2 separate regions of the Homo sapiens genome follow, and region 1 is linked to region 2. Evidence: promoter capture Hi-C in human tissues and cell types (Jung and others, 2019). All regions are on one chromosome and are shown on one strand. The core of a region is centred on a gene start or on the middle of the fragment in contact, and the rest is flanking DNA. Distances in the headings are between cores, read along the strand shown. Region 1 has its middle 28 kb from the start of NGDN. Region 2 holds the start of MYH7 (myosin heavy chain 7).

Region 1 (4,892 bases), core at 649-3,148, 62 kb before region 2:
GGAGTGTACATCACAGAAACCAAGGAAGAAGAGTTTCAAGAAGAAAAGTTCAACAGGTCAAATGGTGAGGTCCACTGGGTTTGGGCAAAGCCAAAGATCTTGTGGCCTTGCTAATCTGTCCCATTCAGGCTATTGCCATAGAACACTGCTTAGGACTGTTTTGTTTGATGATTCCCATTTTAACACCGCTGAATGAGAAAAACTATTTTATTTATTTCTTTATTGTATTTATTTATTTTTTTTGAGACAGTCTTGCTCTGTCACCCAGGCTGGAGTATAGTGGCACGATCTCCGCTCACTGCAAGCTCCGCCTCCCGGGTTCACGCCATTCTCCTGCCTCAGCCTCCCGAGTAGCTGGGACTACAGGTGCCTGCCACCACGCCCGGCTAATTTTTTGCATTTTTAGTAGAGATGGGGTTTCACCATGTTAGCCAGGATGGTCTCAATCTCCCGACCTCGTGATCCACCCGCCTCGGCCTCCCGAAGTGCTAGGATTACAGGCGTGAGCCACCGCACCCAGCCAAGAAAAACTATTTATATTCTCATGCTGAAGCTCAGCAAAGAAGCATGCCAGTACAGCAACAGCAGTATTCCAAGGGGGCAGCTAGGCAGCATCCTGAGGACCAAGATCCACATCTGAGAAAGGAGCTCTTGTAATAAATCTGGAACCCTGGAAAATTTTTTCACTCTCTAAGGAAAAAATCTCCAAAAGCCTCAGTTTCCTCATCTGTAAGATGGTTGCAAAATGCCCCAGTGACTGTAAAGATTAAATGAGCTAGTTTTCCTAAGAAAAACCCCTTATCCTGTGGTTGGCATTTAGGAGTCACCCAATAAATGCTAACACATATTCATATCCTTCTTTCCTTTATAAGTTTTAAAAACTTTTACTTATTTTTATTTTTATTTTTTTTGAGACAGAGTCTCGCTCTGTCGCCCAGGCTGGAGTGCAGTGGCGCAATCTCGGCTCACTGCAACCTCCGCCTCCTGTGTTCACGCCATTCTCCTGCCTCAGCCTCCCGAGTAGCTGGGACTATAGGCACACACCACCGCGCCAGGCTAATTTTTGTATTTTTAGTAGAGACGGGGTTTCACTATGTTGGCCAGGCTGGTCTGAACTCCTATCCTCAGGTGATCCACCCACCTAGGCCTCCCAAACTGTTGGGGATTACAGGCGTGAGCCACCACACCTGGCCTAGCATTAAAAACTTTAAACCTGTCAGGGCACGGTGGCTCACGCCTGTAATCTCAGCACTTTGGGAGGCCACAGCAGGTGGATCACATGAGGTCAGGAGTTCGAGACTAGCCTGACCAACATGGAGAAACCCCCGTCACTACTAAAAATACAAAATTAGCCAGGCATGGTGGCACATGCCTGTAATCCCAGCTACTAGGGAGGGTGAGGCAGGAGAATTGCTTGAACCTGGGAGGCGGAGGTTGCGGTGAGCCGAGATTGCGCCACACTCCAACCTGGGCAACAAGAGTGAAACTCCAACTCAAAAAAAAAAAAAAAAAAAAATTTTAAACCTAAGATCTCATATGATCAAACTAGAGAGATCGCAACTTAGGAAGAAATAGTGAAACCCAACTTCAGAGAAGTTAAGTGCCTTACCAAAGGCCACACAGAAATTAGCTGCAGAGCCAAGATTGGAATGCAGAGCTAAGTCTTTTGTTTATTTGTTTGTTTGTTTTTAGACGGAGTTTCGCTCTTGTTGCCCAGGCTGGAGTGCAATGGCCCGATCTCGGCTCACCGCAACCTCCACCTCCCAGGTTCAAAAAATTCTCCTGCCTCAGCCTCCCGAGTAGCTGAGATTACAGGCATGCACCACTACGCCCTGCTAATTTTGTATTTTTAGTAGAGATGGGGTTTCTCCATGTTGAGGCTGGTCTCGAACTCCTGACCTCAGGTGATCCACCCGCCTCAGCCTCCCAAAGTGCTGGGGTTACAGGTGTGAGCCACCGCGCCCAGCCCTGTTTGTTTGTTTTGAGACAGGGTCTCACTCTGTCACCCAGGCTGTTGTGCAGTGGCACAGTCATGACTTACTGCAGCCTCGACCTCCCAGGCTCAGGGGATCCTCCCACCTCCGCTTCCTGAGTAGCTAGGACTATAGGCGTGCGCTACCACAACCAGCTAATTTTTGTATTTGTTTTAGAGACAGGGTTTTGCCATGTTGCCCAGGCTGGTCTCAAACTCCTAGGCTCAGGCAATCCACCCACCTCAGCCTCCCAAAGTGCTGGGATTACAGGTATGAGTTACTGCACCCAGGCCAGAACTGCTAAGTCTTAGTCCAGGGTTTTGTCATCTATAGCACATAAATGTCCCAAATCTTTTTGTAAGTAAAACCGTTTTCACTAATCATTAAATTTTGCATAAATCTGAGTGGTTTTTTTTTTGGAGATGGAGTCTCACTCCGTTGCCCAGGCTGGAGTGCAGTGGTATGATCTGAGCTCACTGCAACCTCCATCTCCTGGGTTCAAGCCATTCTCCTGCCTCGGCCTCCTCAGCTGCTGGGACTACAGCCATGCGCCACCATGCCCGGCTAAGTTTTTTTATTTTTAGTAGAGACGGGGTTTCACTATGTTGGCCAGACTGATCTCGAACTCCTGACCTCAAGTGATCCGCCCACCTCGGCCTCCCAAAGTGGTGGGATTACAGGTGTGAGCCACCATAAATCTGAATTTTTAATATAGTAACCTCATTAGTAACTGGACCAATCTACAAGGAATTCACTCTAGGGAACCTGAGCCCTCTGAACCCTCTTGGCTTTCCCCAACAGGACAGTGCCTGTGACAAGCTCAGGAACAAAGGAACACAATAGTCCTATTTCCCAGATTTCTTCTTCCGAATATTATTTACTACCAGTTTTATCCTTGACCTTGAAGCTGAGCCCAGCTAAACAGACTACCAAGATCCTTCCACTTGGCAGGATCCCTTTTTAGCCAGAAGGCAAGACCCAAGATGCATAATGTCCAAGGCTCACTCTAGCCACGACATTCCTCTGCTCTTGAAATGCCAGCAGAAATTGTACCATAAGGCAATGTTCAGTAGATAAGCCATCTCTAAGTATATGTAGTATGTTAGATGTTGCAAATGCCACAGAGAAAAATAAAGCAGGGAAGGGGGACAGGGGTTTGTATAGAGGGAAAGATAGGGCCATTTTAAATAGAGCGGTCATAGAGAAGGGGACATTTGAGTAAAGATCATTCTCTGAAACAAAGACAAGATCAGCTCAAAATATAACCTTTGTAGGTCTCAGTTACTTCATCTGCAAGGCAGGGATACTTCAGGACCTACCTGGACGCAGGAGACTTAATGCCTCCGAGGAAAGTGTTTTTGTGGTTAAGAGCACATTCTACTTTAAGCTTTGCTTTGGAAATTTCCTGTTCTATGTATCAACACAGAGTGGATATTACTTTCTCTTTAAAGATGAGGCAACTGAAAGGCTGACTCCCTCAAATTTACCCTGTTGGTAAGTAGCAGAGGTGAGAGTAGAACCCAGGTCTTCTGACTCATAATCCAGGGCACTTTTCTCTATAACACATGGCCTGGACTGAAGCTACAGGCAGTTCACATCTCATAAGGTGACAAGGGTTTCCCAATGGCATGCATCAGACTAATGATGGCATTCTGCATTTACTTCAATATCTCCCTCCAAGGATCTTAAAGCACTATATAATTTTAAGAGCTAAGGGAGTTTTATTTTGTCAAGTGATGCAAAACTATTTCACCAAGGCCCTCAGAAATGGCTTACTTTTCATTGTCAGACCTTAGTCAATCAATTAATATTTATCAAGGGCTTTGCTAAGTATCTAGCTCCAAGTAAGGAGCTATAGAGTACCTATTTTTTAAGAAAAGAGAGAGATGTAATTATGAGTATCCCAATTCCTGCAATTAAGTTGTTTTAATAGTAGTTACTGAATCACTTAATTTTTCCTCCTTTTTAATCCCTTTAAGCTTTGCCTTGAAACTTCATCATGGGCTCTTGGGATCAGGAAAGAAGTTTTGTAAGTCCAATTCTTATACCCTCTTTGCACATAGGAGGTACTCAATCAGCTTATAGATTACGATCCAGCTCTAGGTAAGAGAACTGGGACTTGAACCTAGGTCTTATTATTCCCAGTTAGGGTTCTTGCCACTTTACCATACCAGACTGCATGTGAAGAGTATTCCTAACCCCATGTGTGACCCAATGATGTTATCAAGGTTTCTGCTCCAATAAATTCTCCTCAAAAGAGGGGAATGCATCTACCATCATACCAGGTTTCCATACGACCCTGAGTCTACAGACAGCTAAAGTACAGCCCCAGCCCCAATACCATAGTCCTGGACCAAGGCCCCCAAATCTCTCTGTCATGTCTTATGGATCCACTCCATTGATCTTACATAGTACTTTAAACAGACAGTCCACTCCAGAGCATACCCTATATTGTAATGACCATTCAAACACGCCCATCTTTCTTCCAAATTATGAACTCCTCTGTGAGAGGGCTCTTGTCTAAGCCCAGCACCTAGCACAGTGCCTAATACAAAAAGCAGCACTCAGAGTTATTGAGTGCCTAGCAAATGCTACCTGTTGCAGATATCATGCTGCCCAAATTACCTATGCCTAGAGTCATTTCCTTAGAATCCTCTGTAGACAGATGTGCTACTCTTACCTAAATTACGGCATGACATCACCTGGGAAGGATACCATGAGCAATCAAACTCATTAGCAGCACTTAGCTAACATCACTATTCACTGTCTCCTAACAGAAAATAAGGCCCTTTGGGAATAGAAGTAGGAAAATATAAAATAGGGCAAGAAAAGCAGGTAACGGTCCAGGGCTCAAGGTACCACAGTGAAGACAGCAGCCGTGGTAGTTAGCATAAGACACGACAGTCCCCTGAAGTTAGC
Region 2 (4,897 bases), core at 2,054-4,553:
TACCCCAAAGTGAACTAGGCCAGCCCCAAGCCTGTCTCCGGCCCTCCATCTCTCTCTTTGTTCACATCCATCAGAAAGCAGAGACCTAGAGTAGGGAATGAGAGGGGGTGCACAAGTACAAAAGATTTTGAAGCCAGCAGGAAGACAAAAGAATGACAAGAAGGAGCAGCTGTTTGTAAAGGGAAATCTGAGACAGGCAGAAAGCTCAGCTCCCTAATCCTAGGCTCGTGTGGAGCCAGGGCAGGGTCCCCCCAAGGTCAGGGATTCTGGGGGCAGGCGGATGGGAGAGTCAGCCTCCACTCCTGGGTGGCTCCCCTCTGCCCTGTGCACAAACAACGAGTGCCTCATTCCTCCCCTGCACCAAGTGCCCTGCCTCTTCCTGCCCCGTTTCTTCCTTCCCTTTGGGTACCGGAGCTTTTTTCTGATTCCCCTCTCTCCATGCTGACATCGCTTCTAATTCGCCCTGGTGTCTCCCTCCCTCACAATTACTGGGAGTAATTTTAGCAACTTTTCCTCTGAACTACCGCTGGCGTGTTCACAGCAAATGGCCCCTGTTTTGGCTTGACACTTGATCAGGGTGGTGACAGAGTGCAGACAAAGCCGGCACAATGCGGGGAGGGGAGGACGGGGGACAGATCACCTTCCTTTCACTTCAGGCCTTATTTGGTCTACCTTGCCGAAGCGGCCCTCCTTCCAGCCTCTCTTTATTTATAGCATTTTGCTTTGCTCTCCTTTATCTTGCTATCACTTTGTAGCACACTCTGCACAATCCCCACCCACCCCAGCATGGTGGGGCCCCTGGCCCCTCACTCTCCCCACAAGGAATGTGCATGTGTGCAAAGGGTAGGCCTGGATGCCATTTCTACAAACAGTTGACTAAAGCAGTCCAGAGCAGGGATCTTTCTTTGGGTCATTGTTATGTCCTTATTGACCAGAATAATGCCTGGCACATAGTAGGCACTCAATAAATACTTGTTGAATGGAGGAATCTGCAAAGCTGCTCAGTCTTCAGACAGCAGCAAGCAGCAGGAAGAGAATCATGATGTAACCAAGAGCAGGTGCTGGAGGAGCTAGGGAGTGAGTGGGGATCTTTAAGGACAGCAGGCCCTCTGATCTGTCTGAGCTGTGAGGCAAAGCCTAGTTAGGGAGGTGAGTTCTATCTGCAATGAGAGGGGGCATGGGTGGAGAACAGTAACACCCAAACACCAACAGACCAGAGCCTCCCAAACCCGAAAGGAGAGAAACAAAGTGTGATTGATTTCCCAAATGCAGAAAAGACTACCCAAGTCCCCAGCCAAGGAAGGACGCTGGCCTGTGGTGAAGACACTGGCTTTGAAATGGCTCAACTACGTCCCAAGCACCCTTTGTGCATCTTAATTGCCCTGGGAAATCAGGGAGGGGTGGCAGTTTGGAGCTTGGAAAGCTGGAAGGTGGGGACGAAAGGAGTTTTTGCCCCTCATCGCCAATCCTTGAGGTTCCTACAGGGAACCTCAGACAACAGCTGTCTTAGGGGTTTCCTTCCAGCTCCAAGCAGCTGTATTATCTATAGCTTTGAGAGGGTCTGTCTCTGTCAATGGGGCTGATTCCTCAGCACCTGGCAGGGCCTGGGGGGGACTGCCAGAGTCTGTTCTGCCGGGCATGTTAGTAGCACAGACTACTGGGATAACCTCAGCAACTGTATACCTTAGCACTGCAGAGCTGCGGTGTTGTCAGACACAGCCCTTGCAGTTCGTGGTCTACCCCCACTTGCCTGCACCCCCCTTATAGCTGCTCAATGTCCTCAGACTGTACCTTAGTGCCTTGGTTACCAAGCAACCCCCACAGAGGCCTCCTCCTGGATTTTCCCTTCCCTGCTATGCCCACCCCACCTTCAAAATGTACCTGCTGCACCCATCCCCCAGGCCTGCCTCACTCCTTCCAAGCTGACAGCTAATCAGATGGACTAATCCGCATGCGCGGAAGAGCTGTGCTTGGGAAGAAGGGGGAGATTTCACACCAAATCGTGCAGTGGTTGCCTAGACACGGAGCCAGTCAAGCTTGCATGCCCCGTTGCTAGAAGAGCATGGCATCGGTTGTGTTCTGTGCTCGTAGGCTGGGCCCCAGCTCCCTTTCCTCCCCTCCTTTGTGGCTGTTCCTCAGGCCTGCAGAGGGGAAGATTTTTCCTGTCCTGTTACTCTGCCTCACTTGCCAGAACACTAGTCGCCTCCAGCTCTGGATAAAGCTGAGGCTGGGTGGGCCAGACAACAGCTGTCTTAGGGGTCTCCTTCCAGCTCCAAGTAGTTGTATTATCTATAGCTCTGAGAGGGTCTGTCTCTGGGCTCAGGCCTTTAGTACCTGTGGGGCAGAGCCAGGAACGTGAGTCAGGCAAACCGCTCCAAACTAGGACCAATGCAGCTGGGTCCTGCTCTCTGCGCATAGGGGGTCCCCACATCTTTGGAATCCCAGCCCACCTTTCCAGGCTACCCTCCACAGGCCGGGCTCCACTCCCATCTGCTGAGGTTTCCCACCTTGAATCCTGCTGCCCCGATTAGCTGTATAACCTTAAAGAATGCACTGTCCCTCTCCATTAAATGAAGTGCTTGGATGGATTGCTAAAGGCCTGTCTGGCTCGGAGGCTTGGTGACCTCAACACATTGCCTGCTGGTCCAAGGAAATCAGTGCCTGAGCCAGAGTCCCCATCTCTAAGCTCCATGGTTATTGTTCTTGCCACCTGGCTAGGAAATGTCCTTCCAGCTGCCCCAGTCTAGCTGCCTCACCCTGGGGCCATGCCCCCAACTCTGTCCTACCCTTCTCTGCTGCTGACACTCAGCCCCTTCCCAGCTTCCAGTTGGATACAGGACCTGGGCCAGGAGAGCAGGGAGGACACTGTGGAAATGCGGCCAGGCCATCAGGGGCCTCGCAGCAGGGGACTGGAGGGGGAGCAGTGTCCAGGGCCAGAAGTGCCCTGCGGGAGAGCCAGGACATTGGCTGCCTGTGGTCTTGGTGGTCGTGGTCAGTTCCCTCTCCTGCCAGCTGTGGAATGTGAGGCCTGGCCTGGGAGATATTTTTGCTGCACTTTGAGCCACCCCGCCCCCTGGAACTCAGACCCTGCACAGTCCATGCCATAACAATGACGACCACTTCCAATTGTTTCCTAGCTGGAGAGGCGGGGAGGGGAGCACTGTTTGGGAAGGGGGGGAGCCTGGGGGAAATGCTTCTAGTGACAACAGCCCTTTCTAAATCCGGCTAGGGACTGGGTGCCGTTGGGGGTGGGGGTGCCCTGCTGCCCCATATATACAGCCCCTGAGACCAGGTCTGGCTCCACAGCTCTGTCCTGCTCTGTGTCTTTCCCTGCTGCTCTCAGGTAGGAGCGGGAGCTGGAGGCTTTACTCTGGGATAAGGGGGCTCCAGGCTTAGGAAGGGATTCCTCTTGGAATAGCAAGCTTCATGCAGGACTTCATGCAGAGTACCAGGTCCAGTCACTGGGCACACATGTGCAGGTCTAAACATGGGCGTATGTGCCACAGGAGTTCCTAGGGGAAGATATCTGCATCTGAGCATATGGGACCAATATGCATTACAGGGTGTGTGTGTGTGTGTGTGTGTGTGTGTGTGTGTGGACAAGCCTGCATAGTCTGAATGTGAGAAAGGGTATGTACCTCACTGACTGATACAGAAATATCAAGTGGGAGATGTGGGTGTATGATCACGTCTGTGAACGAGGAGGTTCCTTTGCAGGGAGGGAGAAAGAATGGTGGAGAAGGATTCTAGGAAGTGTGTATGCCTTCATGTGATTCTGTGAGGCCTGGAATGTGTAGCTACCCCTGTCCATGCATGCAGAGGTTCTTGTCTATGCCTCCACGAGTCATGACTGTTATAGTATCTGTACCCTCTGCAGAAGGAACTCACAGGCACGGGGGTGTAGGATGTTCCAGGTCTTTGTGTACTGAAGAACACGCAGTGATGTGATCTACTTACGTGGCACACATCCTGAAATGTGCACATTTGCTGTTGAGGCATATATGGCACCCTGGGGTTGGGGTGCGGATTGAGGTATGGGAAGGAAGCCTGTCTTCATGTGAGAGGCATGCCCAAGCAGCAGGCATGAGTGTTCATCAGAGGGCTTGTGGAGGGTGTTTGGCTATGTGATGGGTGTGTCTGTGAGAGGAAGCCCACAGTGTCTTCTCTCTGAGAATGTCCACAAAGTCTGACAACAAAATGGGGACAGGATGGAAAAGAAGTCTCTTTAGAGTCATCAGACTTGCATTCAAGTCTTGGCTCTCCCACTTGTTGTCATGGGCTCTTGGCCAAGCAAGCCATTTAACCTCGATTTCCTCATCTGTCAAATGGGGTGAAGACTGAGTAGGAGAAAGTGCATTGAAGTGCTTTTAGACTGGAAAGTGCCGAACAAATGTGACCATTAGTTGTCTCTCAGATGGCTCAAAGAAAGGTACCACTAGATGGGTACAGGCAGGGGTGGGACCATCTCGCAGGAGTGAAGAGGATTAGGGTTCAGGTTGAGTTGACACCAGGAAGCTGTTAGAACTAGTTCTTGAGGAAAAAGGGAATAGGGTTTGAAAAACAAGAAGGATGGGACCAGAGAAGCTGACCACCCTTTCCACCTTGTTTTGGAAGAGGGTGGATGCTGAAGAACAGAGCCAGGGAGAAGCAGGAAGGTGGGACTGGTCAGGTTGGGCACAGCCTGCCCTGACACAGCCTCTTCCCTCTCTCCAGGTCCCCTGCAGGCCTTGGCCCCTTTCCTCATCTGTAGACACACTTGAGTAGCCCAGGTAAGAAAAGCTGAAGCTAGAGTGTTGAAAATCTAGTAAGACTGGGCATTAGAGCCCCAAAGCCAGCCTATGGAACTCTAGTTTCTGCCATGTGCTGGAGAGAATATCTTGGCTATCAAGAGCTACTT

The links. The method cuts DNA at HindIII sites, captures the fragments that hold promoters and counts their contacts. A contact is called where the count stands out against the background at its distance.
Region 1: a contact is called between a fragment that was not itself captured here and the fragment with the promoter of MYH7 in region 2, in 4 of the 25 tissues and cell types used here (aorta, liver, lymphoblastoid cells and 1 more).

Annotation. Positions count from the first base shown.
Region 1 is chr14:23,494,764-23,499,655 of GRCh38, reverse strand. No RefSeq gene overlaps it. Among named protein-coding and RNA genes, the nearest start is that of NGDN, 28 kb to the right of the region's middle. The HindIII fragment of the contact is 8,706 bases long and covers 1-4,892 here.
Region 2 is chr14:23,434,066-23,438,962 of GRCh38, reverse strand. MYH7 (myosin heavy chain 7) reads left to right here and starts at 3,303. Exons shown (of 40, transcript NM_000257.4): 1 at 3,303-3,343; 2 at 4,714-4,769. RefSeq lists enhancers at 328-828, 1-1,585, 2,606-3,443. The HindIII fragment of the contact is 9,172 bases long and covers 490-4,897 here.